Linked DNA regions of Homo sapiens: all the other regions are linked to region 3. Evidence: promoter capture Hi-C in 16 types of primary human blood cells and fetal thymus (Javierre and others, 2016). All regions are on one chromosome and are shown on one strand. The core of a region is centred on a gene start or on the middle of the fragment in contact, and the rest is flanking DNA. Distances in the headings are between cores, read along the strand shown. Region 1 has its middle 31 kb from the start of EXTL2. Region 2 has its middle 40 kb from the start of LINC01307. Region 3 holds the start of RNPC3 (RNA binding region (RNP1, RRM) containing 3). Region 4 overlaps SLC30A7 (solute carrier family 30 member 7). Region 5 overlaps LOC102723784 (a long non-coding RNA gene). Region 6 holds the start of GPR88 (G protein-coupled receptor 88). Region 7 overlaps EXTL2 (exostosin like glycosyltransferase 2).

Evidence for each region. Contacts are between HindIII fragments. The CHiCAGO score rates a contact against its expected background, and 5 or more counts as called.
Region 1: a fragment that was not itself captured here is called in contact with the fragment with the promoter of RNPC3 in region 3 in 1 of 17 cell types (activated CD4 T cells); the score reaches 5.9 in activated CD4 T cells.
Region 2: a fragment that was not itself captured here is called in contact with the fragment with the promoter of RNPC3 in region 3 in 3 of 17 cell types (naive CD8 T cells, fetal thymus and total CD4 T cells); the score reaches 5.6 in naive CD8 T cells.
Region 4: a fragment that was not itself captured here is called in contact with the fragment with the promoter of RNPC3 in region 3 in 2 of 17 cell types (total CD4 T cells and neutrophils); the score reaches 9.6 in total CD4 T cells.
Region 5: a contact is called between a fragment that was not itself captured here and the fragment with the promoter of RNPC3 in region 3, in 1 of 17 cell types (naive CD4 T cells). The highest score is 7.7, in naive CD4 T cells.
Region 6: a contact is called between the fragment with the promoter of GPR88 here and the fragment with the promoter of RNPC3 in region 3, in 1 of 17 cell types (non-activated CD4 T cells). The highest score is 5.3, in non-activated CD4 T cells.
Region 7: a contact is called between a fragment that was not itself captured here and the fragment with the promoter of RNPC3 in region 3, in 1 of 17 cell types (total CD4 T cells). The highest score is 5.8, in total CD4 T cells.

What each region holds. Positions count from the first base shown.
Region 1 is chr1:100,862,226-100,865,767 of GRCh38, reverse strand. No RefSeq gene overlaps it. Among named protein-coding and RNA genes, the nearest start is that of EXTL2, 31 kb to the left of the region's middle. The HindIII fragment of the contact is 1,099 bases long and covers 1,464-2,562 here.
Region 2 is chr1:101,282,101-101,285,766 of GRCh38, reverse strand. No RefSeq gene overlaps it. Among named protein-coding and RNA genes, the nearest start is that of LINC01307, 40 kb to the left of the region's middle. The HindIII fragment of the contact is 2,118 bases long and covers 385-2,502 here.
Region 3 is chr1:103,523,283-103,527,097 of GRCh38, reverse strand. It overlaps RNPC3 (RNA binding region (RNP1, RRM) containing 3), which reads right to left and starts at 1,399. Exons shown (of 15, transcript NM_017619.4): 1 at 836-1,399. The coding sequence starts at 1,027. RNPC3-DT (RNPC3 divergent transcript) reads left to right here and starts at 1,590. Exons shown (of 4, transcript NR_168321.1): 1 at 1,590-1,702. It also overlaps the pseudogene RN7SKP285. RefSeq lists an enhancer at 948-1,187 and a silencer at 1,508-1,607. The HindIII fragment of the contact is 7,657 bases long and covers 1-3,815 here.
Region 4 is chr1:100,902,603-100,906,142 of GRCh38, reverse strand. All of the region lies in intron 2 of SLC30A7 (solute carrier family 30 member 7), which reads right to left. Among named protein-coding and RNA genes, the nearest start is that of SLC30A7, 8.3 kb to the right of the region's middle. The HindIII fragment of the contact is 1,210 bases long and covers 735-1,944 here.
Region 5 is chr1:101,298,776-101,302,557 of GRCh38, reverse strand. It overlaps LOC102723784 (a long non-coding RNA gene), which reads left to right. Exons shown (of 6, transcript XR_947643.3): 5 at 3,336-3,549. Among named protein-coding and RNA genes, the nearest start is that of LINC01307, 23 kb to the left of the region's middle. The HindIII fragment of the contact is 478 bases long and covers 1,468-1,945 here.
Region 6 is chr1:100,536,226-100,540,209 of GRCh38, reverse strand. It overlaps GPR88 (G protein-coupled receptor 88), which reads right to left and starts at 2,071. Exons shown (of 2, transcript NM_022049.3): 1 at 1,708-2,071; 2 at 1-1,316. The coding sequence starts at 1,243. The coding sequence ends at 89. RefSeq lists a silencer at 510-679 and enhancers at 1-797, 950-1,349, 798-1,647. The HindIII fragment of the contact is 8,214 bases long and covers 1-3,984 here.
Region 7 is chr1:100,879,689-100,883,597 of GRCh38, reverse strand. The region is part of intron 2 of EXTL2 (exostosin like glycosyltransferase 2); the gene reads left to right. Among named protein-coding and RNA genes, the nearest start is that of EXTL2, 13 kb to the left of the region's middle. The HindIII fragment of the contact is 1,625 bases long and covers 1,443-3,067 here.

The sequences.
Region 1 (3,542 bases), core at 764-3,263, 2.7 Mb after region 3:
TAGCAGGAAGTCTTAACCTTTTTGTGCCAAAGACATTTGAGGATGCCTATCAACCCTTTCTCCAAATAATGTTTTTAAAAACATAAAACACATACGATTACAAAGAAAACTAATTGAATTTAAATATAGTTATCAAAATATTTAAAACTATTTATAAGATCTAGCAGCAGACTTAAAATAACTTATAATTTCATAAAAGTGAAGAGTGTAAATGATATTTTGAGAAATCTGCGACAACTGTAACATGATATGAAAAAATATTTTTGACAGTCACAGGTACTGCTGATCTTCTGTAGTTTTTGCCTAAATTCACAATTGGTGAAAATGCTAGATTTCAGTCGAGTGAAATTGAAGTTGTAATTTTTTTCTGAAATTACATAGATCCCTTAAATTCTATTTGTGAACCACTTGAGGTGGATCTATGAACCCAAGGTTAAGGGTTAAGAACCCCTGGGCTGAATACAGGTTAGGATGGTGGGAAACAAGGAGTTATGAAGGGTGAGGGAACAAAAGGATTTTTCTTCTACAGACAGAGTTTATCTCTCTCTCTCTCTCTCTCTCTCTCTCTCTCTCTCTCTCTCTCTCTCTCTCTCTTTCTCTCTCTGTCTCTCATTCTCAAACTCACAATATTGGCCAGGTGTGGTGGCTCATGCCTACAATCCCAGCACTTTGGGAGGCTGAGGCAGGAGGATCACTTGAGCCCAGGAGTTCAAGACCAGCCTGGGAAACATAGTAAGACCTTATCTCTAAAATAATAAAATAAAATAAAAATGGAACAATAAAGCTCACAATATTCACTTCCCCACCTCTCATTTTTTCTTTACCTCATTACAATAGGGATTATATCCCTATCACTCCCTAAAATCATCCTTTTCCAAGTCTTGCCTGATATCTAGGCATTACACAGTCTGGTGGGTATGGCTTGGTTCTTACCTTATTTGATTTCTCTTTGGCTTTTTCACTGTTAACTACTCTCTTTTCAAATGTCTTTCCTCCCTTTGACTTCACTTTTTCTTTTTCTCCTTTCTCTTTGTAGGCTCCTTTTTAGCCTCCTATCCTGTCTTCTCTTCTTCTGATGGTGGATATGTCCCTGGAGTTCTACCTCTATTTTGCTTCTCTTCTCACTCTGCACACTTTCAATGAAATGCTTTATCAATCTAGTCTATGTCTCTAGCCCAAGCCTCTTTCCTGAATCTAGATCTCTATATTCAACTCTCTATGAGATACTCTTCTGATATGTACCAAGTATCCCTCAAACTCAACGTATCCAAAATTAAACTCATCCTCTTCCCCTCCCTGGTTCTTTGTTTTCATTTCCTACTTTGGTGAATGACATTACAATCCAAAACCTGCCCGACTCAAAAGTCTAGATGTTATTTTTTACTTCATCTTCTCTCACACCACCAAACATAAAATCAATGGCCAAGTTTTAAAGATTATTCATCTTTAAGATAGCTCAAGCTTGTCCCTTTTTCCCAGCTCTACTATTACTGCCTTGGATATTCTAATAGCTACCGGCAATCGTTGTTTCTAATTTGTCAAGTATTATGCCAAGTATTTTACACATGCTGTCTTATTTAATTCTCATATTATCCCCTGAGGTAAGAATCATACCTATAATTACAAATGAGGAAACAGAAGCCAAAGAGGGGTAAGAACTTGTCCAAAGTCATAGGGATTCTAAATGGCAGAGCCTGGATGGGAACCTCAGTCTGTTGGACTGCAAAGCTACATGCTTCCTTGTTGCTCTCAGGATCTCTGGTGTTCCTCACCTACACTCTACTCATCACGCTACCACTAAAATTCTTCTCGGAGGCAAGTCTGATCACCTTACTGTGCTGCTTGTGATTTTTCAGTGTTCTTGAGAATCTTCACCATAGTGCTCACACTCCTATCCTGGCCTTTATTTGGTCAGGCCTAATGAGCTCAGACCTCCCAACCTCTCCAGCCTCCCCTCTAACAACCATACAGCTTGTGCTCCACACCCAGGTGCTTCCCACCCCACCCACACACCTCAGTTTCCCACTCTGCTGTATTCATTTGCAAGGGCTACCCTAAAAAGGACCACAGACTGGGTGGCTTAAACAACAGACATTTATTTTCTCACAGTTCTGGAGGCTGGAAGTCTAAGATCAAGGCGTCAGCAGGGGCAGTTTCTTCTGAGAGCTATGAGGGAAGATCCGTTCCAGTCCTCTCCCCTTGGCTTATAGATGGCTGCCTTCTTGTTGTGCCTTACATGGTCTTCCCTTTGTGTGTACAACCCTGATGTCTCTCTGAGTATCCACATTTCTTCTTCTTATAATAAAGACATCAGTCAGATTAGATTAGAGCTCAACCTAACAGCCTCATTTTAAGTTAATTACCTCTTTAAAGGCCCCATCTCCAAATACAGTAATATTCTGAGGTACTGGGAGTTAGAGCTTCAACATATGAACTTGGGAGGGGACACAATTCAGACTCTAGCACCCACTAACCCAGCTAACTCTCACTCACCCCTCTGGATGCATTTGCTCATGTCACCCTCCCTAGGAAGTCTCTGAAGCCCTAGATCTGAGTTAAGCTTCCCTCTATTGTAGCACTTCGTATTCTATATTGTAATTTCCTTTTTACTTCTCCAAAACCTCCATTGGATCTAACTCCTTGAGGGCAGGAGCCGTGTCTTATTATTTATTTTTCTAGCCACAGCCCCCAAACCCCAAAGCTGAATCACATAGGTGTTTAATCAGCTAATTAATCAGACAAAAATATATTGGTTCATATTTTCCAGATCCTTGTTTTGGTCAGGCACTTTTCAGGAAATTAATGTTAAAGTGGCAAAAGGCAAACAAGTCCAAATAAAGCCCCTCCTCTCATGGAGTAAATATTTTCACAGGAGGACAATAAGTTGGTGAAAATACGTGATATAATCTCTGGCCCCGATAAAGAAAATAGAGTAATGTGATGGAGAGTAGCTATAGGAGACTTCTTTCACTGGTGGTTCAGGAAAAGCTGGAGGAGGATGTGAGGTGTGGTTTGAATGATGAGTTGTTAAGGCATGCTCTGTGGGAAGAGAATTTCAGGCAGAGAGAACATCAGGGGCAAAGGCCCCAATATAGGAATAAACTTGGCAAGTTTGGGGGATGACAAGAATGCCAGAGGACTGCAGAGCAGTAACTGAAGGTGAGAGTAGAAGGAAATAATGCCAGAATCTTGAGCTGTGGACTAAGTACAAAGGAAGCCTCTGAAATGTTTTCACCGGGGATGGGATATGACGATTCATATGCTTAATAAGATCACTCTGGATGCTGTATAGGATGTAGATTTTAGAAGGGCAAGAGTGGGACAGGGGGACAAATTAAGAGATTGCTGGCACTAATTCAGAGAAGTGGTTCTCAACTGGGAGTGATTTCGACCCCCCCAAGCCCCATAAGGGACATTTGGCCACGTCTGGAGAGATTTTTGGTGTTCATAACTGTGTAGTGGGAATGTGACTAGCATCTGGTGGGTAGAGAGAAGGGCTGCTGCTGAACAGCCTACAGTGCACAGGACAGCCCTCAGAACAA
Region 2 (3,666 bases), core at 194-2,693, 2.2 Mb after region 3:
AAAACCAGGAAATAGACATTGATACAACAATATTAACCAAATCTACAGACCTTGTTTGAATTTCACCAGTTTTCCCACAGATTTCTTTTTTTTGATCCAATCCAGGATCTCATATTGCATTTAGCTATTATATCTTCTTCATCTTCTTCAATCAGTGATAGTTTTGGAAAATCCAGGACAGTTATTTTCAAAATGTCCCCCAGGTTTTCTCATGAATAGATTGAAGTTATGCATTTTTGGCAAGAATGGCACAAATAGGATATTGTGCCCTTCTCAGTGCATCATATCTGGAGGTACATGATCTTGGTATGTCCTATTATTGATGAGGTTATTCTTGACCACTTGGTTAAAGTGATGTATGTTGGGTTTCTCCACTGTTAAGCTTACTATTTTTTCCCTTTGTAATTAGTAAATATCTTTTAGGGAGATACTTTGAGACTATACAAATATTCTATTTCTCATACTTTCACCAACTAATTATAGTATCCATCCATGGGGCTTGCCTACAGCAATTACTACTATGGCATTTGCCAAATATTAATCTTCTATTTTTCTGATTCCTTCTACATGTATCAACTGAAATTCTACTGTAAGGAAGAGCTATTTCTTCTTCCCTATTTGTTTATTTGGAGGCATTTTATGAGGATTAAATGAAGTAGGACATTTACATGGTGTCTGGCACACGGTGAAGGCTCAGTAGGTGTGAGTCATCTTTAATATTATTATTACTGAGACAGTATGGAAGTTATGTAACTAATTGTTATGTGACTAATATTTTCTAGTTAGAAATGAGTATTTCTAACATGTTTAAAGGTGTTCCAAAATGGTCTACTATATTAGTTTGCTAGGGCTGCCATAACAAAAGATGACAGATTGAGTGGTTTAAACAACAGAAATTTATTTCTTGCAGCTCTGGAAGCTGGAAGTCCAAGATCAAGGTGTCAGCGGGTTTGGTTTCTCCTCTCTCCTTGGCTTGGAGACGGCCACCTCCTTGCTGTGTCTTCACGTGGCCTTTCCTCTGTTATGTTGGCACCTCTGCTGTCTATCTGTGTGTTCTCATTTCCTCTTCTGCTAAGGACTGGTCAGATTGAATTAGGGCCACGCTAAGGGCCTTATTTTAGCTTGTTCAAGTCTTTAAAGGCCCTGTGTCCCAATACAGTCACATTCTGAAGTACTGGGGCTTAGAGTTTCAACACATGAATTTGGGAAGGGGGAGACGTCATTCCACCCATATCTACCTATTTGCTTTGAAAAACTATTGTGAGCAAATCATTTAACATGTGAAAGCACTTTCAGAACTGGAAAGCACCGTACAAACATAAGGCAATAGTATAACAATACGACAAATTTTGGTAAGCATTCATGCACTTTACATTTCAGGTACTGAAGCATTCCTTTACAATGTTATTGCCATTATTCATTTAACTTTCCTTTCACGGCTGCCACGGAACTCTGGAAGGCCCACTTCAACCCGGGCACTGTCTGTGTTATCGCACATCCTCAGCGAGTGTCAACCACATCAGTGTGTTTTGCTTGCTTTTTGTCTTTCTGAAGCGTGGGCTTTCAGCAGCTCATTTCAGGCTATCCCAGCTACCTCTTCAGAGGCCCGAGGCACCTCCTTCCTCACAGGGAAAGCTGCCTGCGAGGCGGCCGGCAACCGCCTCATTTCCCCGTCTACCAGCTGCGTAGCCTTGGGCAAGGCCCCTCCGTGCAGCACTTCGTCCCAATTCCACGGCTGAAAAAGAAGGATAACAATCCTCACAAGGAGGCTGAGGATTAATGAGTTAATCTTTATAGAGCATTTGGAGAGCACACAATGGACAAACCCCTATTTATCTCTTTGTAGAACTAGCCTACAAACTAAACTCCCACTAGGAAACTAGGACCCTTTTATATAATGTTTACTTGAAGGAAGCAATCTGCAGATTCTAATAAATCTTAGCTTCCCAGAAGTGGGAAAAAGCACACATTTCACTATATCTGAGTAAGTAAAAAAGTAGAACAATTTCTCCCCACCGAAGGTTTTGCTTATCAGAGGCTAACAGAGGCCAGGGAGAAACTGTGACCTGTGGTCTGCCTTGCCTGTCATGGATAAGGAAGAACCAGAGACTCTCCCCAGGGCTGTCAAATGTTTTTAGAGCTGACATCCTTGCGGTCCACAGCCTCCAAACTCAGAGCGTGTGGGAGGAGGGGATGGATACAATTTAATTGCCTCCTGCAACTTGCCAAGCCCACCACCATTTTCCCAGGCTAGCAGTAGCCATTCCTTGCTTAATAGTAGTGCTTTCAAGCCCTTCAGAGACAGGAGTACTTCAGCAGCCAAAGTGGGAAGTCCTTCTTCCAAGTCTTCCAAGGCCTTTGGCCACTGCCAAAGCACCCCAGAAAAGTCTGTCTGTAGGAACTGTCTCTGTTTACCATGTTGCATTACCTCTTTGCTCAGAATCAATCACTCCACCTGTGATTGATTGCCAGGGGCCACCAATACTGCTTTAGGGGGAAGCTTTTCTCCACACCACATCCCTTATTTTCCTTGCCTCACTCCCAGGCAATTTTCACCACAGGTCTGGCAACAGCCTTCTAAATGATCTCCATAATTCTGCTCCCTAATCCCTACTGCATGGTCTTCCCTGCTCCTCTCCACCTATCCAACTTCTAAATCTGAAACAATAAAATCTTACAAATCCCACCTCTATTCTCATATCCCTTGGAAGTTCTTGTTTAAAGGATCAGTAGAGATTAGCCAGGCCAAGAGAATGCCTGTGTGTGAGACGGGGCGAGGAGGGAGAGAAGAGGGCCAGAGAGCAACAGGGACTGCAGAACAGCACATACAAAGTCGTGATGTGAGAACGTGGCTCACGTATGCAACTACTCGGGACTCAGCAAAACTGGAACCTAGAAGGAAATAAAGCTGGCGAGGATCAGCAAAGCCAGGCCCCCTGTGAAGGAGTTTGGACTTTATCTAGGAGAAAGTGGGGGCCATTGAAGGGTTTTAAGTACACAAGTGTCACAAACAAGTTTGCATTTAAGAAAGATTTCTCTGGCAACAGAGCGGAGAATACATTAGAGGAGAAATACTGGAAGCAGAGAGACCATCTGAGAGGCTGGTACAATTATCCACAGTTGATGACAGCAAGGGGTAAGAAGGAGAGGGGATGTTAACTTCAGCAGCGTTACTCAAAAGTGTTGTCCTTGGGCAAATGCCAACTTCTGGACCAATGTCTGTCCTCCAACTGTTTTTCCTGATCTGTTATGAGATAAAGAACTTGTGCCAGAATGTAAAGTCAAGGCAGGCACTTATTGCTTCATCATAAAAAGTCTTGCTTTAGGGGGGAAAATAAGTCAGTCATACTACACAGTGTGCTTAGTGAAGTATTTGATTTACATTCTGGCCCAAGTCCCTTATCTTTGTGAAACGGTAACAGTCTGCAGACCAGCACTGTAAGTGGCACTGACTCCAAGGACTTTCTGGATTGATGATGATTTGGATCCAAATGAGAAGTTTATAATCATGGTGGGTTCGGTAAATGAGGGAGACAATACATGCTTATAAGAAAAACAAGTAACCCAACTGTGGACAGGGTGATAACCTGAATGAGTGATGCATTATCTCACTCATTCTTTGAGGACTCCAACTGAGAAGCTGGATCCCTGAATGGAATGACCGTA
Region 3 (3,815 bases), core at 150-2,649:
CACATTCTAATTTTGTCTAATCTGATACACGATGACCTGATGTACTTAAATTGAGCCATATATAATTTTTTTTTTTTAATTTGCAGGCATAAGTGACATTTAAACTGATCAAAATTGGTCTTTCTTCTAATTCAGTAACTCTCAACTTGGGCTGCACATTAACATTAAAATCACCTAGGGAAACTTTAAAACCACTGAGTCTTGCACCATCGCTATTCCTATTTTAATGAAGAGAAATCTAAAATATCTTTGGATATAAAGCAAAACAAAGTAATTGTGTAAATTCCTACACAGGTACTCTTAACAGCCCTAAAAAATTGTTCCCTAAAAGATGTCATCGGGAAATTTTTATGAAAAGCCTCTTTTTCTAGTTGAAATTCTGCATTTAATTTACGCAAGTCACCAATGTAGCTTCTCCTCTATTTTAATGAACGATTTAACATTGGCTTATAAATGAAGTAGGACTTTAAAAAATCCCTTGATGCACATTTGTAAGAATACTCTTGAGTCCAGGAGAAATAACCCCAAATTCAAAAAAGTTGTGAGGCTCTCAGGATGGATCCGAAAACTCAATATAACTAAGCTAATTTCCATTCTTCTGCTTTGTCGTTCTCACTTGCCCTTTTCTGCAGTGCTATGACTAATCCAGACTCGAGCCGATTAAAACTCCACTTCGCAGAGCAGATATTTTGATAAAAAAGAGGTAGGATGGGGGAGCTCTCATCACACAAGTCCATCTTCCCCACTCGTTTCCATTTTACTCTTGTCAGCGCTCCCCCTCCCCGGTCACTTCCCAAATGCCTTCCCGGGAGACTCCGGAGGGGCGCGCCCTTACCAGTCGCCCCTTATCTGACAGGACCCGCACAGACTGAGCCCCGAAGTACTTCAGCAAGTCCTCTTTCTCCTCAGCAGTAAGCTCAGCCGGCAGGTGCCTGACCAGAAGGGTTCGGTCGCCCCGAGGCGGGGAAAGCGAGGAGGAGCTCGTGCATCCCCTTGATATCGCAAGCGGCTGCTCGGGAGCTGCCATTTTCCTTGGAGAAGCAAAAACAGAAATCGTGGGAAGAAGTCTCAGTCAAAATCGCGGCATCAACACAAGCTGGGAGAAATATTTTTTCCGCCTCGCGCTAAGGATTCTGGAAACCAGGAAATACCGAGAAAGAAAGTCACCTTCTCGCGAGAACTGCGCCACCGAAAAGCGGCAACCCTTCGAAGACTCTTCGGGGAAGGGCGCGGTGCTAATGATTTAAATTCCAGGGGTCTCCGGAAAGACTTACAAGCAAAAATTGGCCCAGAGATGTGCGAGGGTTAACACAAGTTGTCAATCAAAGAAGGAAACAGGAACCCCAGCCACTTCAGGGAAAGAAGGTTGACGCTCAAGGACAAGAGGACTCACGACTGCGCATGTGCGGGCTGGGACCGTCACAGGGCGGGGCGGGGCGCACGGCGGGGCGGGGCGCACGGCGGGGCGGGGCGCACGGCGGGGCGGGGCGCACGGCGGGGCGGGGCGCACGGCGGGGCGGGGCGCACGGCGGGGCGGGGCGCACGGCGGGGCGGGGCGCACGGCGGGGCGGGGCGCACGGCGGGGCGGGGCGCACGGCGGCGAGCGCTATCTGGAGCTGACCGTGCGGCTCTTAATCCCTGGCCTTGGGAAAGTGAATTGGCCTGAATAGCAAGGAGGAGAACTTGGGTGTGGAAATACCGGGTATGTTCTTACAGTATTTAGATGGTAAAATATAAAGCTAGCCAGTTATTCTGTCAACTCATTAGACACCATTGTAGGGAGGAGAACTCAGTTTAAGGGGCAAAACGTTGAGAGTTCAGACTTTTTTCTTGAATCAGTAGGCATTTAGCAGACGGATAGGCCCCTGCCAGGGTTCATTTCGCAGAAATGGCAGCCTCTAGGGAGAGGTAACCTAATAAATAAATTATTGCATGTGTGTGTATGTGTGTGTGTGTAGGGGTGTGTGTGTGTGTGTGTGTGTATGTGTGTGTGTGTGTAGGTGTAGGTACTTTTCTCCCTATTTTACAGCTGAGGACACTGATGTACAAAGAGGTTAAATCACACAGCTAGAAAGTGGAAGAACTAAGTTTTGACCCTTGGTGTTCTGACTGGGGGTCTACATTCTAATCCACTGTTCTGCCTAGATTCTGAATGGAGTGAGGCAGGGATCATCCCCGGAGGGTCAGGAATGTACCCCTCACCCCATACAGAGAGGGCCTTGAGGATTCTAAAGAGAGGTTTTATGCTAGATGTAGCTGCTACAGTCTGGAGAACCAGAGTTCCTCTTACAGTTCTTTTTGCCACTTAAATAAATGTTAGAGATACAGCAGTAAGCAGTATACCAGCAATCTGCTGTCATCCCGCATTGGTTGGGGAAAAGGAGAGAGACAGATATTAATGAAAACTAGAAGACAAACATGAGAAGAACCTTCCCCACACACCCACCAAAATATCAGATAGGTAGAGCCAGACCACGTAGACGCTGTAGATTTGTTAGGAGCCCTTTTTATTTGAGGAACATTTAGAAACTGACAAATTCTTTAAGTAGGTGTGTGTTGAGGGGAGAGAATCAAAGTTTAGGTATGAAAATTTCTCCGGTTGCAATGCAAAAAACAGAAGCAGAAAGACCAGTTGGACTACTGTAGAAGTCTGGAGAAAAACACTACCATAATAGTTTGGTGAAAGTGGACATGTAGAGAAGGAACTGGAATTGAGATACGTTTTAGAAGTAGTTGATAGGAACTTGCAGATGAAGAATAGTAAGCAAGGATAAATTCTGGATTTTTGGCTTAAGCTAGATATTATCCATCTGTAGATGATGATGCCATTTACTGAATGTGAGAAGATTGACCAAGTATAGCTAGGTTAGAAACTGTAGTGGGACATTGGGAATAGAGGAACATATATTAAGTTTAAGGTATCTATTCAGTATCCCTGTTTCAAGTAGGAAGTTGAATGTGTGTGTTTGGCATTCTTGGGAAAGGTTACCACGAGGTATGGCATCAACCTATATGGTATTTATATCTGAAGAATGACAAAGGGTATAGATAGAATTGTGCCCATAATGGAGTCATGGGACATGCAGATGTTGAGAAGTTGAGGCAAGGAAGAAGAAGAAGACAATCAATTCCTGCCCTCTCAATGCTTACTTTCTAAAATCAAGACAGAATAAATATGTAAATAAAGTTCTTTTCAGAGAATAATAAGTGCTTTGGAAAAAATAGGGTAGTGTTATAAACCGATTGGAGTGGTCATGCTATTTTAAACACTATCCTTCAGCGGCTTTTTTGTGTGTGTTCTTTGAAGACTTGTTTGGAGCTTCTAGCAAGGGAGCACTGCTACACGTATGCCCTTACAGAAAAATCATCCTCCTTTATGGGGGTAAGTCATCCTCCTCAGCCGAGTGGGCAGCTTTGGAAGAGACATATATGGGGCAGTTAGGAAGGAAGGGGAACCCAGCTAGTTAGCCAGATCAGCCAAATCAACTGTTGGGATCAGTTGGTGACAGGTGTCATGCAAAATGACCGTCACATCCTCCCTGTGACTCTTATGTTTAGTAAAATGTTCCAGACATAGTGCACATTCTGTAAATATCTATTCAATGAATGAATGCATGAAGGAATTCACTTTTATATTTACCACTGCCTCCTACGGTTAGGAATTACTACAGGGGCTATCAGGCAGAGTTTAATGGTCATTATCTACTGTAATTCAGGTATCATGACTGAGTGGAATAGTTACATGACAGAATTTTATTTTCTCTCTACTTAATTGCTTTTAGTTGTACTCAATGAAATCTACCTTATCCTTTCCT
Region 4 (3,540 bases), core at 90-2,589, 2.6 Mb after region 3:
CACTGAAAAATTCAAAGACTGTGATTTGTGGAAATCAGCAATAACAAAACACAAAACCCAGCTCAACCCCAGTTTGACTACTGAGCAAATAGTTTCGAAAGTCCCATACTAACGGCCAAACAGAAAAATAGGTGTGCCCATTTCTGGACATATACAGTCTCTATTATTCTTTTAAACAGAATGTCCAGCACTCAATGACAAAATCAAGAAAGAAAAAAAGAGAGACTCATTGTTAAGAGCTACAACAGTCAACAGAACCAGAAATGGCCCCAATGTTGGAACTATTAGATAGGACTTTAACAACAAATACAATTAATATGTCAAAGGATGTGGTATAAAGTCAGAGAAAATTCATTAACAAATGAATAATTTCTGCAGATAAAAACTATAAAAGAATATAATGGAAATGATAATTTTTTAAAAATTACAATATGGAGGAATAACAGTCATGGGCTTCTGAGCAGACTGGACACAGAGAGAAAGAATCAGTTAGGTCAAAAGAAGTTAAACAAAGTGCAACACAAAGAGAAAAGAGAGTGGAAACAAACAGACAAACAAAAAAAGCAGAGCATCCCAAACCTGTCTGGACGTATCAAACATACTAAAATACATGTATTTAGAGTCTCAGGAACAGAAAAGAAAAAAAGAAAGGGATAGGAAAAGTATTTAAAGAGAAAATGTTTCAGAGTTTTCTGAAATTCATAAAAGAAAATAAATCACAGATCCAAGAAGCTTAATGAACCCAAGCGAGGAAAAAACCCTCCACACGTCACAAACCACTAAACATCAAAGAGAAATAAAAAAATCTTTGAAAACCAGAGGGGAAGAAAGAGAAAAATTAAATTAAAAAAATAAAGATAAAATTTATAGCATGTTTTTCTTCAGAAACTATTCAAGCCAGAATGCAATGGAGCAACACCTTTAAAGTATTGAAAGAGAAAAAAAATACTGTCAACAACCTAAGGTATGACAATAATAGCACACAGAATGGAATAAGAAAATCAAAGTGTATTATTGTAAGGTTCTTATCAGATACATGAAATGACATATTATTTGTGATAATTTAAAGATTAATATTATACATACTAAAGCACCCACTAAGAAAAGCCACCAAAAGAAGGGAAGGAAATCCTCTACCAACACAAAGCAGACGTTCTGCTACCACTGAGAATGGAGAAGGAAAGTTGTCTCCATCCAGGACCATAAACATACACACAGTAGAGTTTGGCTATTACAGGAGAAGGAGTAAAAATGTTGACAAAATCATACCCCTGAGGTTGAGGCTTACAGAATCTACCAAAGACAGAGGCTTTGGGTTAAAGTTAACAAATACCCCTCTGCCTTCACCATAAACTGGGTACTGAGTAACAAGCAACAGCAGTCTATAGCTTGGGCAGGAGTAAGCGCATGAAGAAAAGAGCTTCTGTGGCACAGGCACCATACAGAGATTACTAAAAGCACAAAGTCCAACCAACTAGTGGTCTGACAGACAAGGCATACCTATTTCCGATCATAAATACTATTACCTCAGTATCTACTGTTTTTTACTCATAATGTCCAATATTTGATAAAAAAAATTTCAAAATACACAAAGAGCCAAAAAAAAAAAGAAGTCACTGTGGAGAAAGCAGTTAACAGAACCAGACCAAGATATTGACCCAGATACTGGAGCTATCATAAACTCTAATTAATATGTTAAAGGATCTATGGAAAAAGTGGACAAAAAAATATGAACCAGTGGGGAATTTGGTAGAGAAGTGGGAAATATAAAAAACAATCAAATGGAAATACTAGAAACAAAAAACAAGTTATCAGCGATAAAGAATTCTTCCAATTGGCTTATCACAGACTGGACACAGCTGAGGAAAGAAATCCGTGAACTTGAAGAGAAGTCAATAAAAATGTTCTGAAAGCAATCATCAGTTCAGTCTTTAAAAACAAGCTTCTGAAGTCAGAGTACCTGGGTTCAAATCCCAGCTCCAAATTTACTAGTTCCGTGACCAGTAAGTTACTTAACTTCTTTGTGCCTCAATTTAGCCATCACTTCAATAGAGTATAGTATAAAAGTGTCATAATTGTTATAATAATTGAGTTAATATATATGAAACATTTACCACAATGCTTGTCACATTAAAACCACATTAATATTCCTATTGCTAATTATTAATAAATCACATTATTAATTATTAACTATTATTAATGCTTATAATACCTGGTGTTCCCAAGCACAACCCATACCTCTTAATATTTGGCTAGATGCTAGAGTTTTCATCAGTTGGAAGTGCTACAAACTAAAAGTCAAAAACATTCTTCACACATACAGAAAAAGCATGGTTTTAAATTTTTCTCATAATTTGGAATAATTATATAATTAGAAACTAAGTCAAAGCACATCATTTACCAACAAGAAAAAGCACAATAATTTATAAACCTCTGCCAAATCATTACAAAAGATTTTAGAAAATGTCTTAAACTTTTATCATGAACCTTATTTATTCCACTGAAATATAGATATATTAGAAAGTTTAAGTGCAGATAGTACTTTAACCATCTCATCTGACATCTAACTCAAAGCAGAATGAGAATTGGTGAATAAATGATAAAGCAGAATAATAAAACTGATACATGAGGACAAGGTAAGGGGCATATTATTCATGCAATTCTCTTAGATTTAATATTTTAAGATTTGTCCTTGTATAGTTAGATTACCGAAAATTACACACTTGAACCATAACATCTATGTAACATGGAAAATAATGATTTAACTTTATTTTGAAGTATGAAAGACTCATGTGAAGAATTTCTCTATACTGTGATAAAACCATTAATAAAGACATTGTCTATGATTTTGTTTTCGATCCCCCAAGAAAAGATTAATATGGCAAAATACTGTTAAAATTTGATTTCAGAAAACTGTCTTTCTACTCTGATAAAATGATAGAGTTGTGTTCACTTTATGGAATTTTATAACTAAATTTAAAAGTCAATTTTGGGAGCTAAATTAGACTATATATTTAATAGATTAATTTTTTCCTCCCTAGGTATGGTTTCTAAATGTTTTTATTTCTTAATGTGTTTTATTAGTATATATAGCTTTTATTTTAAATTACTGTAATCAGTTTTAGAAGGCAGGGCATTCATTGTAAATAAATATAAACAAACATTTACTGATTTATTGATCTATATTTTACTATCTATTTCACTATTATTTAGTAAAACACTGTCATGGGTTGAATTGTGTTCCTGCGCCCAAATTCATATGTTGAAGTCCTAACCTCTAGTACCTGAGAACGTGACTTTATTAGAAATGGACTCATTGCAGATATAATTAGTTAATATTAGGTCATTAAGGTGAGCCCTCATCCAGTGTCCTTATAAAAAAGAGAAATTTGGAAGAAGATACATAGATCACAATGCGAAGATAAGGCAGAGATCAGGTGATGCTCCTACAAGCCAAAGACTGTCCAAGATTACTAGAAAACCAACTGAAGCTACAGAAAGATCATGGAACAGATTCTTCCTCAGAGCTCTCAGAAGAAA
Region 5 (3,782 bases), core at 457-2,956, 2.2 Mb after region 3:
TCTCTTCATCTCAATTCCTCATAATAATAACATCTGCTTATGGTGCTGTTATAAGAATGACATGAGTTAACAAAGGGAAAGTGCTGAGAGCAGTGCCTGACACATATTAAGCACTCCCAAAGTGTTCGCTATCATTTTTACTGTACATTAAGAACCAAGCAGGGCTGGGTGCAGTGGTTCATGCCTATAATCCCAGGGCTTTGGGAGGCTGAGGTGGGAGGATTGCTTGAGGCCAGGAGTTGGAGACCAGCCTAAGGAACATAACTTCTCTACAAAAATTTTTTGTCAATTAGCTGGGCATGGTGACATCACCTGTAGTCCCAGCTACTTGGGAGGCTGAGAAGGGAGGATCACTTGAGCCTAGGAGTTTGAGGCTGTAGTGAGCTATGATTGTGCTACTGCACTCCAGCCTGGGTGACAGAGCAAGACTTCATCTCAAAAAAAAAACAAGGCTGGGTGCGGTGGCTCACACCTGTAATCCCAGCACTCTGGAAGGCTGAGGTAGGCGGGTCACTGGAGCCCAAGAGTTAAAGACCAGCCTGGGTAATATGGTGAAATCCTGTCTCTACAAAAAAACACAAAAATTAGCTGGGTATGATGGTGCATGCCTGTAGTCCCAGCTACTCAGCGGGTCTGAGGCGGGAAGAGGACTTGAGTTTGGGAGGTCAAGGCTGCAATGAGCCATGAACACACCACTGCACTCCAGCCTGGTTGACAGAGCGAGACCCTGTCCTCCCCCAACACACACACAAAAGCAAAACAAAAGAACCAAGCAAAATCAACGCCTGCACTGCACATTCTAGACACTCAATAAACAGGAATTGTCTCTCTCTCCACTACTCTTTTGGCCAACTCCAGGGGGAAATGTTAAGCAACGTTATTCAGCACTAGTTATTTGTCAGCTCCTCTCATAAATCAGGGTTACAGCCAAAGACAGCACTCTCATCTTCATGGGCCTAGGCTTCTCTGTCTCATTTTACAATGGAAACATATCAAATGTGGCTGACCCCAAGCCCAAAAAAAATGACCTCTAAAGCACTCCTGACAAAAAATACACATCCCTATAGCCCACCTGGCTCCAAACAAAAAACACACATCCCCCACTCACTGACCCACACATGTGCTTCCAATCCCCATGATTCCATAATTCAACAAATACTTGCAAAGCACCTGCCATATGTAAAGCCATAAGAGGAACACAAAGAAGAAGTCAGCGACCTGCCTCAATGACCTGATTGTTAGTAGGGGAGAGGAGAAACAAAAGACTGCAAGCATTAACCACCTTGCAAGATAAACTGAGTGCTAAAGGAGAAACGCAGTTCAGTAAGGGGTCAGAAAAGACTTCAGGAAGGAAGTGAAGTTTGGACTTCATCTTAGCTCATGTGTGGAATTTCAAATGGGAGTGATGTGAATGGGGAATTCCAAAAGGAAGGAAAGTGGGAGTAAAGGTTTAGCTGTTGGAAAGCTTGGGGAAAATACCAGGAAAAGTATGTCGTCTCACTATATGTCATATCAGGCAGGAACTTGGGATAAATAAAAAGTTGGCCCCGGGCGTGTTGGCTCACACCTGTAATCCCAGCATTTTGAGAGGCTGAAGCAGGCGGATCACCTGAGGCCAGGAGTTCGAGACCAGCGTACCCAACATGGTGAAACTCTGTCTCTACTAAAAATACAAAATTTAGCTGGGCATGCTGGCGCACACCTGTAGTCCCAGCTACTCAGGAGGCTGAGACAGGAGAATCCCTCAAAACCAGGGGGCGGAAGTTACAGTGAGCCGAGATTGTGCCACTGCGCTCCAGCCTAGGCAACAGAGTGAGACTCCATCTCAAAAGTAAATAAATAATAAATTTAAAAACCTAAACGTTGTAGATAAAATGTTAAGGATGTTTTAGGGCAGAGCTGAAAGAACATCAGAATATATTTAAAGTGGGGAGCCAATGAAGCTTATTGAAAGGCAAGGAGGTGACATGATCAAAGCTGGTCCTTGATGGTAAATCCAATGTTATGGAGGCTGAATTTGAGAAAAGAGAGAAAGGAGTTAGGTGACTATCACAATAGTGTAAGTGAGAAATTAGACTGTTTGGTGGAAGGAATGGGAGAAGAGAATGACATTGGATACAGTATCCACAGATCTTGACCAGTGATTTAATTTGAAGTTGAAAAGAGAAAGAAATCAACAATGAGCCCCGGATTTTACACCTAGCTGCCTGATGGAACAATGAAACAATGTCTTCTGCAGAAGTGGGAAACAGGAGTCTGGTTCTGGCAAGAAATAATGACTTAGGTTTATCCCTCTGAAAGAGCTAGTACTGCCTCTTCTAGGCATCCTTCTATGAAACTGCAAATAGTGGGAATTTATTTTCTCAGCTTTCTTTATTTACAGGAGTCCCTATGAAAATCATGGAGTCTTGGGACTTCTGAGGCAAGAGGAAAGACGGCAAAAGCAGAGGCAAAGACAGAAATAAATCTTCTCTTCTTTTCTTCAGTTTGTCTGACAAGCTTATCTTTTGATCACGAGGGAGAAAGAAATAGATGACAAGAGGAGTTTCCCCCACTACAATATAAGTTCCATAAAAGCAAGGATTTATATTTTCTTTCTCTTTTGTTCACTGATGTAACCTCAGTACCTTGGACAGTCTCTGGCAATAGGGAGAGCTCAGTAAATGTTTGTTGAATGAATGAATGATCTCCTTCTCTAGGCATATGAAGAAATAAGGAAGAGTGGTCACTCACAGCTAACTCAAGATTCCCCTCCCACCCCAATCATCTACCCTGTTAATTCTTTTTCATCCTTGTTCAAAAAATACCTAGAGGCTGGACACGGTGGCTCGTGCCTGTTATCCCAGCACTTTGGGGGCCAAGGTGGGAAGATGGCATGAGGCCAGGAGTTCAAGACAAGACTAGGCAACATAGGGAGACCCCATCTCTACCAAAAACAATTCTTTTTAATTAGCTGGGCATGGTGGTACACACCTGTGGTTCCAGCTACTTGGGAGGCTGAGGTGGGAAGACTGCTTGAGTCCAAGAAGTCGAGGCTGCATTGAGCCATGATTGAGCCACTGCATTCCAGCCTGAGCAAGACCTTGTCTCAAAAAAAAAAAAAAAAAACCCTAAAAATAATTCTCAAAGAGCCCTGCTTTGTATTATCACACTCTAGCAAAGTTATCAGGAATTGACACTTGCGGGTAGATACAGCCAAGGAAATGGCAGCTCCCTGAAGAGCAGGAAGCAGTTTATGACACCAAGCAAATCTGGTTTCTCGCTGGGAAGGGAGGCTGGTTTTGGAAGTATGCAACAATTTGACTTATTTTCTTAATTTTATTTTCTATTTATAGGCTTACTGAATTATTTTCATCCATGCCCTTTTAAAATATGGTTGGTAGAAATTTGCCATTTGAGACTAGAATCCCATTCGGAATCATGTAAGTCTCTTTTGACTCCACGAGGACATCTTTCACCCAGTTTTGGGAAATCTGAGGAATGGATTCTTCTACAGACTGATAAAATATCACAAGGTCCAAGAGTTTGTGTGAGAAAGAGGACATCAAGGTAAAATTTTTTAAGTGGATAAAGATGGAGAAGTAGAAGGATGTTATTCAAAAGTGTAGTTTATGATTAAGGTTGGTCGTGACATCAGAAGCCTTTAATATCAGGCCCACCCATCCGGATTCATTAAGCAGATTGTGTCTTATCTTGCATTTCTGTTTCCTGAGACTTAATCATGGTTTCCTCAGTGAGTATCATCCGCTGCCTAAACTTCATAAGAGGATGTTTTCTTTTTT
Region 6 (3,984 bases), core at 822-3,321, 3.0 Mb after region 3:
GCAGGGGATGCCCTAGGAGGGAAGGAGGCGACGGTGCCCAAGGACGTCGGAAGCCGGGGATCTCCGCTTCCCTCGGGCCCCGGCTAGGTTACCAGTGCTGGCCCGCGGCGCGGGTGCCCAGTTGCGCCTGGGACACTGCGGGCACGGCTGTGGCGGCAACGGCAGCGGCCGCCGCGTCGCCGACGCCCGGCAGGACTGAGCGCACGGAGCGGCGGAACTCCTCGTTCCTCCACGTGTAGAGCAGCGGATTGAGCGCGGACAGGGCGCAGCACAGGAGCCAGCTGGCCGCCTGCACTCCCCAGGGCACCGGCAGCGAGAAGCCGCTGGCCAGGCTCACCCACACCAGTGGCTGCGTGGCCAGCAGGAAGACGCAGCAGAGCAGCAGCACCGACAGGCCGCTGAGACGCCGCTGTGCCCGCCGCGGGTGCAGCGCGGGCGGCAGGGGCTGGGCCTGCGCCGGGTGCGCGGCGCCACCGGGGCCCGGCGCGTGCTGGGCGCCCGGGAAGGCGGCGGCGGCGGCGGCGCAGCCGGGCAACTGGTGCAGCAGGTGGAAGTTGAGCACGCTGACCCGCTTGACGCTGACACGCACGCGGCGCACGATGCCCAGGTAGCAGTGCAGCAGCAGAGCTGTCTGCGCCAGCAGCGCCGCGGCGGCCAGCAGCGCCGGGTAGTGGACTCGCGGTGGCGCGGCGCCGGGCCGCGGTGCCCAGGGCGGGAGCAGCAGCACGAGGCCCAGGGCGAGCGCCCAGGACAGCGCCAGCATGCCCGCCGTGTGGCGCCTCTGGTACAGCGCCTGGTAGGTGGCGGGCGCCCGGGTGATGAGCAGGTAGCGGTTCAGGGCCACGAGGCAGTGGGAGAGGAGGGACACCGTGAGTCCGAGGCCCAGCAGCCCACCCCGTAGCAGGCGGTAGCTGCCCCCAGCGCCGTCCCAGTCTGCGGGGGGCTCCGCAGAGCCGGTGGGCAGGAGCCCGAGCACCGCCTCCTGCGGCATCCAGAGGGCGCAGACGCTGAGGTCGGCGGCGCAGCCGTTCACGATGAAGGCGTTGCTGGTGGTCTGCAGCTTTCGGAAGGACGACACGAGATAGATGACCATGCCGTTGGCCAGCGTGCCCCCGATGGCCAGGCCCGAATACAGGAGTGACACCGGGATGCGCCGGCCCGCCCACGACTCCTCTTCCTCGCAGAGCAGCAGCAGCGAGCCACCGGTGGTGGAGGAGGTGGATGTGGAGGAGGAGTTGGTCATTCTGGCCAACTCTTCACACCTCCCTCGCTAGCGTCGGCTTCTGGCAGCGCGGTCCATCCTGACACTGTCCTGCCTGCCAGAAGGGCAAAGACATCCCTTCAGCCCTCTGCCACTGACACAAAAGGCTGAAGCAGAATAATGGGCTGGGGGAGGGGGAGAAAGGGAGCTCGAGGAGGAGGACGGGGGTGGCAGATGACAGGTGCCTGCCTCGGAAATGTCTCCAGAGCCAGGGGAAAGGCCACTTTGCATTGGATTCAGCAGGTATCGGGGAAGCCCTAGGACAGAGCAATACCTAAAACAGTCTCCTCTTCTCCCCCAACACACACACACACACACAGAGAGAGAGAGAGAGAGAGAGAGAGAGAGAGAGAGAGAGATATGTTGCCAGCTGGAGGACCTAGTTCCAGGAGAAAGCAGAGATATCCCAGCTGGGGAAAATCCCATGGGAAAGAGGTGAAGGTTACCTTGCGTTTAGGCTGGTCCTTAGCCGGTGTCTCAGGGGGAGGGATGCCGGGAAATACCTCCTCAGCAACAGCATCAGTGGTCCAGAAATCAACAGGAGAAACTCAGCTGGGATCAGTGCCAGGAGCAAGTGCCCGCTTCTCCCAAGCAGCATCCACACACATGGTCCTGGGCAGGAACTAGCAGCTGCAGGGAGACTTCTCAGCTGGTATCAGGGCTGGAGAAAGTAAAGTGGCGGGCTGCAAGCCCAGGCGGGTGGGCAGGCAGGCAGCAGCAGCAAGAATGCTTGGCTGCAAAAGCAGAAGCTGAGCTCAAGAGGAGAGCACCCTGTGCTCAGAAGCAGGAGTGGTGGCTGATGTGGTGAACCCACTCGAAGCTCTCTCCTGCTTAGTTATACATCATCCAGGGAAAAGACAGCCTTTCCACGCTTGGCATGAATTATTCAATAGCTTCCAACTTGTAAAAGGAAGAAAAATATCTTGCTCAGAAAGTCCTGTCGTTAACAAGTTTCTCTGTCTTTTCTCTCTCCCAATCACCTTATTTTTCATCCTGTTTCATTTTTCTTTCCGTCCTTTTTTTCCCTCCCTTCAATATTAGAATAAAATTTAATATACCCTAGAGTATTTCATCTCAGTCTGATGCATTTTGTGGGCAAGATTTTTCTGTGAGATAAATATATTCCCAGTACCCAGGACTGATCTCTTTATTCCCACATTTTTTAACGAGAATTACTTTATGCACTACTTGAAATTCATTTTTCTTTGGTAAAGTGGAACATAGACAATTATCCACAGAAAATCTCCATTCCTCAATTTAAATCGTACTTTCAGTGTTTTCTCATCAACAAACTCCTTTCCGGAGTTTGTTTTGTGTTTTAGTAATGAAATGGTTAGAGGGTAAAAATGAAATGGGCAAAAGATTTAAAGCAGATGTCAGTGGTACATCTAGACAATGGAATATTATTCAGTGCTAAAAAGAAATGAGCTGTCCAGCCATGAAAAGACATGAAGGAACCTTAAGTGTGTATCACTAAGTGACAGAAGCCAACTGGAAAGGACTACATACTGTATGCTACCAACTATGACATTCTTGAGAAGGCAAAACTATGGAGACAGTTAAAAAGACCAGTGGTTGCCCGAGTTAGGGGGAAAGGAGGAATGAATAGATGATCACGGAAGATTCTTAGGACAGTGGAACTACTCTGTATGATACCATAATAGTGGATCTGTGTACTTATAAATTTGCCCAAAGTGGCAGAATGTGAAACATCAGTGTAAGCCATGGACTTTGGGGAATGATGTGTCAACGTACATTCAATTGTAACAGACGAACCACTCTGGTGGGGGATTTTGATAATGGGAGAGGCTATGTATGCGAGGGGCAGGGAGTACATGGGAAATCTCTGTATCTTTCACTCAAATTTGCCATGAATCTAAAATTGCTCTAAAAAAATAAAGTCAATTTTAAAAAAATGTGTGTCAGGGGGAAAGCAAGAAACCTGAATAATCCACAGTGTGAACAAAGATGACTTTTCACTTCAGAACTTTTTGTCTTGTCTGTCTTGGAGATTTGCAGTCTGATGTTGGCATCTTCTTTGGTGCAAGTGTTCATTTATCCATTCCATGTGGGAATTTTTTCAGAAAAGGAGTTCTCTCAATTATTCACTGGAAAAGTCATGTATTTGAAAATGTAACTCAATATGGGAATATGGTAACATGGCATAATAGAAAAAAATGTTAGGTGGGGTTGCAGCACACCCAGATACTAAGCCGAGCATCCATCATGTAGCCTTGCGATGGATTATTTTCATCTTGTCAAATAAGTTCACAGTCAGTCACTTCAAAGGCCCTTTCTGTTAAAACTTTCTGTGAATCCCTATTCATGAATTTAGCATTTCTTCTCTCTAATTATGACACATGGCATATACCTCTTCTATCTAACATGCATTGCAGTTGTAGTTCTGGGTCATATGTCCCTAAGAGCAATGTTTCAGGAGAGAGGTCAAAACACAGCTTCTCTGCTTTTCTTTTTCTATTTCAAAATCAATATGGTTAGTTGATGACTTCAAGAACTCTGATGAGGATTAAGGATAAGCATGACTTGATAGATTTGGTCCAGCTAAGCTATATCTGAATGAAATTGGTTGGGGCAGGGGCAGGGGCCGGAGGGGGAAGTGAAAGAAAAGAACCAGTGACTTGCTATTCAGAGGGTTGAAGGTTTCGATATCAAGTTTACTGATGTAAATGAGATGAGTATTTGTCATCATCTTTTTGCCTATT
Region 7 (3,909 bases), core at 1,006-3,505, 2.6 Mb after region 3:
CAACAAAAAAAATGAGGTACTGATATATACCTCATGATATATACAGCATGGATGAACCTCAAAAACATTATGCTAAGTGAAAAAAGCCAGATACAATGGTCATATATTGTATGATTCCATTCATATGAAATATCCAGAATAGGCAAATCCACTGAGACAGAAAATAAATTAGTGGTTTCCTGGAGCTGGGATGGAGGTCAGGGGTTAAGGGAAGTGAAAATAGGGATTGGCTGCTAATGGGTCTGGGGTTTCTTTCTGAGGTGTTGAAAATGTTTTAAAATTAAATTGTGGTGATGGTTGCAAAACTCTGTGATTATATTAAAAGCTACTGAACTGTATACTTTAAATGGGTAAATTTTATTGTATGTAATCTCTCCTTAAAGATACTAAAAAACTCCAACATAACAAGTATAATTTTTTATATTATCTTGCAGGTTAGTGACAGTCTTCCTTATTAATTTTTTGACACATCCTTGCAGAATTTACCCTAGCATAGTGGAAAGAGTTGTGGACTGTGCCATCAGAAGGTTTAGAGTCTTCTCTTGGTTCTGCTGCTGATTAGCCACATGCAGCTGCATGACCTTAGGCAAGTTCCTTATCCCCGGACCTTGAGTTGTTTATCTGTGAAACAAGGAAACTGGCTAAGGAGGACCCTGAAGTCTCTTTCAGCTCTCTGAGTTTCTGTGTTTGTGCAATAAGTCATATAATTATGTAATTATTGGGGCAGTATTTTTTAGTTGGTTTGTTGTGTTTTTTGTTTTTTGTTTTTTTATGAGATGAGAGTCTCACTCTGTTCCCCAGGCAGGAGTGCAGTGATGCAATCACAGCTCACTGCAGCAGCCTCAACGTCTTGGCTCCAGCTATCCTCCTGCCTCAGCCTCCTAAGTAGCTGGGACTATAGGCATGCACCACTACAGATGGCTGATTTTTTAATTTATTTGTAGGAATGGGGTCTCATGACATTGCCCAGGCTGGTCTCAAGTTCTGGGGCTCAGGCAGAATCCTGCTTTTGCCCCCGTAAGTGCTGGGATTACAGATTTGAGCCATCATGCTGGGCCTCCCGGGGCAGTTTTAGAGACAGGGCTTTGCCCTTTATTGTTTGAGTATAACTAATGGCAGTAGGATTTTCAGAAGCCACCTCTCTAGTAGTCCTCATCATGATGTTTAAGTGTGTTTTATTAGGCAACCTATATGTAGATCAGGGTTTCTCAACCTTGGCATTATTGCCGTGTTAGGTCAGATAATTCTTTGCCATGGGGGGCTGTCCTGTGCATCGCAGGATATTTAGCAGCATCCCTAACATCTACCCACTAGATAGCAATAGTATCTCCCCTCTAGTTGTGACAATCAGAGATATCTCCAGACTTTGCCAACTGTCCCTTGGAAGACAAAATCATCTCTAGTTGAAAACCCTTGGTGTCCCCAGCAGTGGTCCCCAAGCTTTCTGGCACCAGGGACCTGTTTTGTGGAAGACAATTTTTCCATGGATGGGTGGTGGGGGATGGTTTTGGGATAAAACTGTTCCACCTCAGATCATCAAGCATTAAATTCTCATAAGGAGCATGCAGCCTAGATCCCTCACATGCACAGTTCACAATAGGGTTTGCACGCTTGTGAGAATCTAATGCCACAGCTGATCTGACAGGAGGTGGAGCTCAGGTGGTAATGCTTGCTTACCCATTGCTCACCTCCTGCTGTGCAGCCCAGTTCCTAACAGGCTGCAGACCAGTACTGATGTGTAGCCTGGGGATTGGGGACCTCTGGTGTAGAAGACGCTAAGTAACAATGTATCAAAATAACTAAAAGGATGTGTTCTCTACCTATAAAGAACTAATGAATTAATGTGCAGAAAATATCATTGGGGGAAATCTTGGATTTTTTTCGTTCATGAGGAGAAGAGGAAGGATTTTTGTTTTGTTGGCATTTACTGTATTTATCAAAGTTATATTTACTGCAGTCATGGGGATGGGTGAAGGACAGAAGGGGAATAGACTAAGAGCTGTCAGATCCTTTTTGGAATGAGGCAGGGTGTCAGCAAATATATAAAGACATAACTTAAAAAATGAAAAACCAAAACCTAAAAGGGAAAGTTTAGGAAATGAGGGCAAGAGAACTGAGGTGCTTATGTTTACTTCTTAGTTCTTCCCAAGTACGACATAGGTCATCCAGATGTGTTTTTTCTCATATCTCTCATTCAAAGCTCAAAGCTGCAAATTAGATGATAGGTTCTTTCTCTAAAAGAAGAACAGAAGAACGCCAAAAACTGTGAAATCCTTCTAGCCATAAAGTCATCATTATTCTCCAAATTGTACTGAAGCTGTTTCTAATGGGCCTACAATGGAGTTCTAGACCTCAGCTATTGTCAAAGTACAGTGTGCCACTTGCACTACAGTCTATAAAGTCCTTGCTTTTCGTACTTTACTATGCAAACTAAAATTTACATAATTTTATTGGGTTGCATTATTTAATAAATACCTCATGAAATATTTACACTATGTTTCTAAAGACATAAATTATTCATATCTCCTGAAACCTTTCTGATACAGGTAAAATTGGGGGATTAGGAGCTATCTGAAAGGAAATGTCTGTGATGGATACAGGGGATAAACTCCTACTTAAAAGAATACATGAGAAGGAAGCAGTCACTCATGAGTGTCTTCAACGGTGTATATTTATAGTAAGCTATAGTAATTAATCTTATTACTTTTTCTAGATTAAAACTGCTAGATAGCAAGTTATTAGTGTCTAGAGATCAGAAACACTTCTATGTAAGTTTTAAAATGTGCTATTCCTACTCAGCTGCAGAAAATGAATATAAAGATCTTAATCATGGTATACTATAATGCAGTTAGTCAAAGTGATTGTTTATTCTCAGTACTTATAACCAGTCATTTTTATGTAGAACTGAAAATATGTGTTATGGGACCTACTTTTCCTTCAATATTAAAAGGATTTTCAAGGACTTTGAACCAAGATTGTTAATTCGTAATGATTTGTCCTTGACCACATTAACATTACATGTTTTAGTAAGAGGGTAGATAAAATGAAAACATGGTACACTAAAGCTTTAAGTTATTATCCTTGTAAAATAATCATGGAAAAGCTGAGGTTACCTTGAAAATAATTTATTTGTTTATACCTTAAGAGTGAGGCCGTGATAGAAGCAGAAACACAAAATTGCTCTTTTTAATAGAACAAGCTGCAGAGAAAGTCCAGGAGAGATACCCTTGAAATCACTCTCAAAAGCTTACTCTAAAGGTGACATTACTTTTCAAATCTGGACTGTTGAAAAGTGAGAGCTGCTGAATGACAATGATCTTCTCCTTGTCTTTGTGAACAAACTCTTCCTTTGCTTGCACATGCCTGAGCATACTGTCCTATCATGGAGAGTATGCTCTTGTCCTTCTTTGCAATTCTCTAAACTTAAACTTCAAAGGAAAATGTTAAAGACGGGGTATATATGATCTCTCTATGTCCTTGAACTATAGAGAGGAAACTTTCTACCATTACAAAACACACACCACAACATGAAACAAGCTTACAGGAATATGATGGTTACTAACCCAACCACTGCCAAGTCTCCTCAGTGAAAAACAAAATGTTGAGTAGATATCATTAGGAAAGTAAAATGAGATTTAGTTTGGAACAGAATATTCCAAAACTATTCTATTCTATTCCAAACTAAATTTAGACTACAGTCTTAGGATTGCCTATGGAATGATGGCCTAGCTTCAATTGCCTGACTTTAGCCACAAGACATGAAATCAAGAGCTTAAATATTACTATGTAAGTATACATACAGTTCACTTTTCCAAGAAGAGGGGGAGTACCAAAAATAAAATGTACAGAGGCAGTGTTATACCAAGAAGAAGAGTGACAGTAGCTCTTTGCAGTTAGTATACTTCAGCT